Linked DNA regions of Homo sapiens: region 2 is linked to region 1. Evidence: promoter capture Hi-C in human tissues and cell types (Jung and others, 2019). All regions are on one chromosome and are shown on one strand. The core of a region is centred on a gene start or on the middle of the fragment in contact, and the rest is flanking DNA. Distances in the headings are between cores, read along the strand shown.

Region 1 (4,290 bases), core at 1,641-4,140:
GCAGAGGCCGGAACAGAAACGTCCCACAGAGCCATCGCCCACAGTGCCGTGGATTTACCTTTGCATAAATTCTGCTGGCCGGATCCTCTTTCGAGAGGCCGAGGTTCTTGGTCTTCAGAAACTCTCTAAAAGAGAATGGATTTGCCTCTTCCAGATCTTCAAATCTGTCATCTGAAATAACAGACATCACAAATGCATAAAGTCTACTGAAGAGCGTTGAAAGGGAACCTTCCTGTTCACCTGTCTTTCCAGAGCATGGCCACATGTGAGATCGGGCAGCCACGCTTGTCATTCTACCATGACTCAGGCAGCACTAGGAAGTGTGAAGGTGGCTGAAGGTGGGCAGTGACACAGACGTGCGTCTGCATTTGCAATCTTCTCCTTCCACCCCTCGGCCCCTGCTCCCACACTGTGCTGCTCACTAAAGCTCCCCTGGGGAGCTTTAAAACGACCCAAGCCACTCCACTGCACACACCCAGCTCCCTGGTGTGAGGTCAACCTGTGCTAGGAGCTCTCAAAGCTCCTCAGGTGGCCAGGTGTGGTGGCTCACGCCTGTACCCCAGCACTGTGGGAGGTCAAGGCGGGCGGATCACGAGGTCAGGAGACTGAGACCATCCTGGCTAACACGGTGAAACCTCATCTCTACTAAAAATACAAAAAATTAGCCAGGCGTGGTGGTGAGCGCCTGTAGTCCCAGCTACTCGGGAGGCTGAGGCAGGAGAATGGCGTGAACCTGGGAGGTGGAGCTTGCAGTGAGCCGAGATCGTGCCACTGTACTCCAGCCTGGGCGACAGAGCGAGACTCTGTCTCAAAAAACAACAACAACAACCAGCTCCTCAGGTGCTGCAACGCTGGGGACCCAGTGCCCCCTGACCCTCTTCCCGACTTTCCTACCTAGGTAGCCTAAATAACGCCCACTTTTCCCTTCTCCCTCTTGCCACCGCCTTCCCACCCTCCGGGGACTTAAGCAGCCACACTCGACCCTCCCAGCTGTGAGCCCCATGTAAAGCTGGCTCCTGTGGCCCCAGCCCCCCAGGTGGGGCTTCCCCGCTCCCTGATGTCACCTCGCTGCTACTCTAGGATCAAGACTGAACCCTTGAAATCCCACCCCCACCTGCTCTTTTGGGCTCCAGCTACACCACATAGCCAGTCACATTGACAGTCCCACCAGACACGTGCCTGGCACTGTGTTGGATGGAGACAAGAAGAAAAGGTTGCTGAACTACTCTACCTCCAAAATGTGTCCCGTGGGCTCCTGACGGGCTCTGCTTAGAACATTTCCCCTTTCCATAGCCAAAATCTGCAAAGAAACAATGTCACCCACCATGCTGGCAGGAAGTCTTTATGACCTCACATTTGGTTTTTTTCTTTTGCACATGGAGTCTCCACTGCAGTGGTTCTCACAGTCTAGAGAACTTTTTTTTTTTTTTTGAGACGGAGTCTTGCTCTGTCGCCCAAGCTGGAGTGCAGTGGTGCGATCTCGGCTCCCTGCAAGCTCCGCCTCCTGGGTTCACGCCATTCTCCTGCCTCATCCTCCCGAGTAGCTGGGACTACAGGCACCTGCCACCACGCCCGGCTAATTTTTTTGTATTTTTTGTAGAGACGGGTTTTCACCCTGTTAGCCAGGATGGTCTCAATCTCCTGACCTCATGATCCGCCTGCCTCGGCCTCCCAAAGTGCTGGGATTACAGGCGTAAGCCACTGCGCCCGGTCAGCCGAGAAAACTTTAAAAAAAACACAAGCTCCCAGACTTGTGACCCTGGAGATGGCCTGACTTGCAGACTGGCCCTGGTGTCCGTGGTCTGAAAGCGGCTCCTCAGCAGATTTTGAAGCCCAGCCGGGGCAAGCGCGTCCTCTTGTCTTGTGACAACCCCCGAATGTCCTCAGATCCTGGCATAACCACACAAACACTCCTGCACACCCCGGGCACCCAGCAGCACTTCTGCTTGGGTAGAACGAGGACGAACCAGATCTGGCCACTGCCCGGCTGTGGAGGCAGATGGAATGCTCCAGCTCGGTTTCCAATCACTGCCCACTAGGTGAAGGCACCCCGACTCCAGCCCCACGAGGAAAGCGGGCGGGCTCCTGTGCTCCCCGGGCACTAACCATCCTGTACTGGAACTGTCTGTCTTGGGGGAGGTCTCCCCGCAACCAGACTGTGAGCTCCTAGCAGGGGACTCCGCCTTTGAATTCCGAGTGCCTGGCACGCAGTGAGCGCTCTGCACATTGATGGGTCAATGGACGAGCTCGTGCTGCAGCGGAGGTGCCACACGTGGCGCGGGAACTGGAAGCGTCCCCGGGGCCGGCGCCCTCGTCTCTCACCTGTGTCTCCCACGGAAGCCAGCACCGGGCTGGGCACATAGCACATAAAGGCCGGCCGAATGCCGAAGAAGGGGGAGTCCAGGTCCCTGCCATGGGGGCGCTCACAATTTAGCTGGGGGAGACAAGACCGGCGCTCATAGAACGCTGGAGCTGGAAGCAACGACAACAGCGACTTTACTGCGTGCCGGGGCGGCCGCCGCCCACCTGGACCGCTGGACTCGGCCCCTGCCCCGCTCACCGTCGGGAATGGCGAGGCTCCGGGCTCGGGACAGCGGGGTGGCGCCCGGGCGGCGCTGGTAGCCCGACATCGCCGCCGGCCCGGCGGGGCACGACCTGCCTAGCCCGGCAGCGGCGGCTCCATGGCCCCGGCTCCGCCCGTGCCGCGGCCCGCGTCGCCCGCCCCCGTCGCCCGCCCCCGTCGCCCGCCGCTCGGCCGCCCCCGCGCCTCCGAGCCTCTCGCCGCTGCTTCCGCTCCGAGCACCGAAAGCGCGTGCCTGAACGCCTTGGGCCGTCGGCGAGGGGGAGGGGAAGCCGTGGGCGGAAGCGGAAGTGACGACTGAAGCGGGGCGGAGACGCAAGATGGCGGCTGTGGTGCTGGCGGCGACGCGGTTGCTGCGGGGCTCGGGTTCTTGGGGCTGTTCGCGGCTGAGGTGAGCCAAAGGCGAACCAGGCTTCGGCCTGGGGCGGGGGCGGCTCGAGTCTTTCTGGACGCTCCGTCTTCGGTTTCTACAGGTGACATGGCGCCCGTGGGACGGGCTCGCACTTCGGGACACTGGTGTCCCCGAGGCGACGGGGGCCCTGCCTTGCTTTGCGCCTCGAGCCCGGGGACGCAGTCCCATCTGTCTCTCCTCTCCCCGGCTGCTGGGTCCTCTCCCCCCCTCACTTCCCGGGTCGACGGGCCTTCTCCGAGGCCATGCCTCATATTTGCCCCCGCGCTTCACCTACCGCGTGCTCCTTCAGGAGGCTGAGCCGGTGGGGGCCCAGCTCTGTTAGACCCGCAGGGTTCTGACACCAGGGTCCAGGCTCTCGGTTGCTGCGGTCTGTCCGTTGATCTCTGACGTTTAAGAACCCTTTCCGTACCCACCGCTCCTCCCACCCAAGTGACCGGGCCTGCCTTTCCCCACGCTGGAACTTTGTTCCGACAGCACAGGCGTCGCCCCTCCCCACACAACGAGCGCCGTTTCAGGGGTGCGGAGGTGCTGCCTCCAGGAGATGGATACAGGCTGGAGCGTAAACAAAATATCGGCAGTCGCGTAAATGCTTTGGAGTAAACAAGCAGCCTTTCATGATAGAAAATAGCAGGAAAGACTAGACTGGTGAGGGATAGTCCTCCATCAGGGTGACATTTAAGGGAAGAGCTGAAGAATGAAAGAAGGGGTAGGCATGGGCAAAGGGCAAGCCCTGGAACGGTGAAGAAGCTTTGGGGTTGATGAGTCAAATGTGTTCCAGGAATTGACAAGAATCAGTGTGACCAGGACCTATGGGAGTGTGGGGGTTCAAGAGATGAGTTTGGAGAGGGAGACAGAGGCCAAGTCACACCCCGCCTTCGGACCAGGTTAATAAGGGATATGGCTTTTATCCAAGACTTCGGTGGTGCTGTTGGAGGGCAGAGCTGTTAAGTGCTTTATGTGTACAAACTGCACTTAGAGTGAGTTACTGTTAATAAGCCCTGTTTTTACAGAGATAGCAACTAAGACCCAAAGGACGGAACCAGCTTGCTCCAGGTCCCGTGGCTGAGCCTTTGTTGTCAGCCTCTGCTTTGTCTTCCAAAGTCTGTAGAAATAAGTCCTGTAGAAAGGCAGATGCTCACTTTTAACCCAGACAAAACATAACTAACCGCACCTAACAGGTCATCACAGGTTTGTTGTCTCAAGCCTGTTGTAACTGGGCCGCTTTCTCTGTTTTAGGTTTGGACCTCCTGCGTACAGACGGTTTAGTAGTGGTGGTGCCTATCCCAACATCCCCCTC
Region 2 (4,290 bases), core at 914-3,413, 320 kb before region 1:
GAAAAGGACAACACCTTGGTTCCCCATTCCATCCCTCGGGCCTGGGAGACCACACTGCCCACAAACCAGGAAAGCAGGACTCCGGAGGCAGAGGCCAAGAGGAGTGCAGGCCTGGAAGAACCGCTCAGCACCAAGATCGTCACTGTTGTTTCATGAATAATGCAGCCTCATGCTTTAATTGGAAAACAAAGGGAGGATTGAAGAATTTTTTAAAAGTCACCACTAGCCCCCTGCCCAGGGCAGAGCAGCCCTGCGAACCCTTCCAGCAGCCGGTGGTAAAGAACAGAGCCTGTTCTCGCAGCCTGTAGCAGCCCAGCTCCCACTGCTCCCAGCAGGAGATCTCCCGGGTGGCTCCTCCCCGCCTTCCCGCCAGGCCAGGGCCAGCACCATCGAGCCCTGGGTGTGACCACTGCGAAAGGATCCCTGGCCACTAAGAAGTGACAAGTGATATCTTGTTCCACTCTCTGTGCCCATTCCAAGTGGCTTTGCCGAAAGGACAGGGGGCCACCACCTTGGGTGGCAGCTCCTTTTATTTCCTCCCCTTGGACTCTGGCCCAGCTACCACCCAACAGTGACCCCAGGGGAAAACGCCAAGAGGCCTCTTTAAGGGAGGGGCTGGGAAAGGCCCCACAGAGGACCAGAGGGGTGCTCCAACGGTGGCCGGGAGAAGAAGGGGTGGGTGGCTGAGAGGTGGCGGGTGGGGCGGGGGCTGCCTGAACCCTGACCTAACTCTAGGCGCCCCTGCTGGGGGGTGCTACAGGCTAAAACACCCTGCAGAATGCTGAGCTGAGTGTCCCACTGGAGAACAGGAGGGAAGGAGGTCAGGAGCCTGCCAGACGAAAAGAGGGGTGGGTGAGAAGAAGGGGCGACCTGGAGGGACACGGACTCTGGCAGGAGAGTGCGGCCGCGCTGGCGGGCGGGAACACCAAGGTGCACGCGCTCCCGGAGGCAGCTCCACGGGATGGGAGTCCGGGCTGCCTTGGGCACCCCCGGGTCAGCACCCCCGCCACACACAGGAAGGAACGCGCAGCAGAGAACACAGCTCAGGGCACCCAGCGGCCCAGGGAGACGGGCCCACCAGCACGTGGGTGAAACACCTCCAATCCGGAGGCCCCGCGCGGGGGTTGGGGGAGGGAGTGGAACGGCCTGGGAGGCCAACTCCAGGGACCCGGCCTCGCGGCCTTCAGACCCACAGGTTTAAGCGGCTCCACGACGAGAGTCCAAGACCAAACTTCCCCCAGAGCCTGGCAGAGGGGCTGGGAGGTGACCTCTGACCTCCGACCCCACACGATCCCAGCAAGAGAAGCAGGAAACTCCGTCGGAAGGCCTCGGTCCGCCCTGGCCGTGCGGGGTGCGCGGCGGGCCCCGGGCTCCGCTGAGTTTCTTAGAGAAGGAGCTGGGGCCCCCCGACCTCAGCTCCGCAGAGGCACAGAAGCTGGCAAGAGGCAGAGCCCCCTCCCCCTGCGGCCGGACCCCAGTTTCTCCCCAGGCTGGGGCCCGAGTGGGGGAGGCGCGGGAGGCGGTGACGACCCACGAACGGGCCCACCTGGACCGGGAGGGCGAGGCGCGGGCCCGGCTGGGCCAGGCAGCTGCGCAGATGCGCCGGGAGGGGTGGGTACCTCCGCCCTGGCCCCGGGCCAGTCCTGCCCCGGCTTCCCCACCCGGAGGGCTGGATCGGCCAGTCGGGTCCCTGGGGAGGCCGCGCGGGTCCCCAGAAATCCAGGGAAACCCAGCAGGCGGCGGGGAGCGCCCCGGGACGCCCGGAGCCGGGGTCTCCCCGAACGCGCGGCGCGGCGTCCCGGCCCGGGGTCGCGGGCGCCTCCGCCGGGACCCCCCGGCCCCGCCCGGCCCCCCTCCGCGGGCTCCCGAGGCCGGTTCCCGCGCGCACGCCCGGGCCGGCGCGGAACTCGGCCGCACCCGCCCCGCGCGGCCGGCACTGCGGCAGGGGGCTCGCGCCAAGTTGGGCGGCCGCGGAGTTTGCGGGAAGTGCGGGCCCGGCCCGTGGGACGACCCCGCCCGGCGGCGTAACCCGGGGGCGGCCGCGCGCGCCAAGTTGGCGGTACCTGCGGGCGCCCGGCCCGGTCCGGCCTGGGCAGCTGCGGCGCGCCGCCCGCGGCAGGAAGTGCTTGGCGTCCCGGCGCTCCGGCTCCCATGGACTTTCTCCGACCTCGCCCAGCACCGGCGGCCGCACCGCGGCGGGGGCGGGGCGGCGGCGGGGGAGGTGCCCGCGGGCCGTTAAAGGGACAGCGCGCCGGCCGCGCGCGCGCGCGCACTGGCAGCCAGGTGGGCTCCCGGGGTCGGGGCTGGGGTCCGGGGGCCGGGAGGGTCCCCAGTGGGGGCCGGCGGGGCGTGGGGAACCCCGAGCGCTGGGGAGGGGAGGCGGCAGCTCCTCGCCCCTCGCGCGTCCTCCTTCCGGAGCTGCCGGCGGTCGACCCTGCGCGGGACACCCGGCGGGAGCCGGACGCCGCGGCGCAGAGGACGGAGCTCGGCGGCCGGGTCGGGAAAGGACCTGGAGCGCCGCCCTCCGCCCTCCCCGGGCCCCGGCCTCGGCCGGACTCGCTAAGCCCGGGAGAGCCCCCGGGCCCCCCTACCCCGCCCCCGGCGCGCGCCCTGCCCGCGGCAGTCGCGTCCGCACGGTGCAGCCTCCGGGATCCGGGCGGGGGAAGTGCGCGCATCCGCAGCCGCCCTGGACGCTCAGGCGGGCCGTGAAAGACGAGGATACGGGAGCGCCCTTGGGCGAACGTCTGCGGGGCTCCGGCGCCCGTCCCTGCGGCCCGGGAACTGCAAGCTGCCTGGACTGGGCCTGGCGCTGCCTTCAGGCCTGGTGTGATCCGGGCGCACTGGGGCGTTGACAGTCATTCCGGCACCGGCCACGCAGCTCTCCATCTGCCCAAGGCCACGCTCCTGAGGACAGAGGTGCAGTTTTAAAACAAGGGCACGGAAATAAAACGGCCACACACCCGGAAAGACCCAGAGACCCCTCCTCAGCTGCCCCCTAACCTGGGGCCTGAGGTCAGGACAGGCTGCAGTGGTCCTCAGAGGCTAAGCCAGCCTCACTCCCACAGCACGCTCAAGGGTCCTTGCAGGAGAATGGAGTGATACCGCCTCAGTGGTCCCGAGCGAGGGCGCTGGGAGAAGGGTTGAGAAGGAGATGGCCACCAGCATCCCAGAGAACGCCTTTGGGGCTCTGGGGATCAGAAACCTGGGGCTACAGCCCTTCTGGCACAGTCAGCCAAGGTCATTCCCTGGACAAATCATCAGAAGCTTGGCCAGGTTCTTGTCACCCCAACCTCAAGCTAGGCCCTTGATCTTGGCCACAGACTGGCCCTTGACCCCAACTTTAGGTTCTATTCAGCTCTGCGTCCAGAACACACACACACACACACACACACACTTCACTCCCTGGCTTGCCTTGTATGGGGGTGAGTATGGAACCCCGCAGGGACTCTGGGCTCTCCCCACAGAGTCCCATCTAGACCTAAATGCAGTCCCAGGTCCCACACCCCAACCCCCCTCCCCCCACCACTGCCACTTCCAAACCCGCCCCGCAGTCTACTGTGGGAAGGAGGTGGGGTAGGAGGGTTCTGAGTGCCTCCTACACCCAGGGCATGAGCTCAGCAGCCTCAGGGTTCTGGTGCTTCCTAGGCCTGACTTTACAATCTCTGCAGGATCTCTCAGTGAGCATAGCTACCCCAAGCCCCTGAGAATCGTGAATCCCAGAGACAGATGCCTGGAGCTGCTTCCAGCCCTGGGGCAGGCCTCAAGGGGCTACCCACTAGGACCCGTGGCCCTCCAGGGATGGGAATGATTGTTTTAATCACTTTTATTTTCTAAATATTAAAGACATTCTTCCTTAGTGAAGGATATTTGGAAAGCATTGAAAAGTGTTTAGAAGATAGCGGATAAGCAGAAATCAATTCCCCAATTTCTGTGTGCCTATACGTATGTACACCAACATATATTTGCACCTTTTAAAGCAAACCCTGCATCCCTACTGAATTCCAGGCCCGTGCTACTGAGTATGTACACCTTACCGCATTTAACGTTCACAACAGTACCATGAGGTGAGCTCTGTTTATTCCTTTTTTTTTTTTTTTTTTTGAGTCCGAGTCTCACACTGTTGCCCAGGCTGGGGTGCAGTGGCGCGATCTCAGCTCACTGTAACCTCTGCCTCCCGGGTTCAAGCGATTCTCCTGCCTCAGCCTCCCGAGTAGCTGGCATTATCGGCACGTGCCACCACGCCCAGCTAATTTTTGTATTTTTAGTAGAGACGGGGTTTCACCATGTTAG

The links. The method cuts DNA at HindIII sites, captures the fragments that hold promoters and counts their contacts. A contact is called where the count stands out against the background at its distance.
Region 2: a contact is called between the fragment with the promoter of NACC2 here and the fragment with the promoter of PMPCA in region 1, in 1 of the 25 tissues and cell types used here (heart right ventricle).

What each region holds. Positions count from the first base shown.
Region 1 is chr9:136,407,768-136,412,057 of GRCh38, forward strand. It overlaps PMPCA (peptidase, mitochondrial processing subunit alpha), which reads left to right and starts at 2,891. Exons shown (of 13, transcript NM_015160.3): 1 at 2,891-2,972; 2 at 4,230-4,290. The coding sequence starts at 2,902. ENTR1 (endosome associated trafficking regulator 1) reads right to left here and starts at 2,847. Exons shown (of 10, transcript NM_001039707.2): 1 at 2,561-2,847; 2 at 2,323-2,472; 3 at 1,232-1,300; 4 at 59-171. The coding sequence starts at 2,630. RefSeq lists enhancers at 1,950-2,109, 2,960-3,049, 3,080-3,129 and silencers at 2,470-2,519, 2,660-2,749. The HindIII fragment of the contact is 13,229 bases long and covers 1-4,290 here.
Region 2 is chr9:136,093,126-136,097,415 of GRCh38, forward strand. NACC2 (NACC family member 2) reads right to left here and starts at 2,164. Exons shown (of 6, transcript NM_144653.5): 1 at 2,064-2,164. RefSeq lists an enhancer at 180-871 and silencers at 2,077-2,206, 2,527-2,626. The HindIII fragment of the contact is 19,137 bases long and covers 1-4,290 here.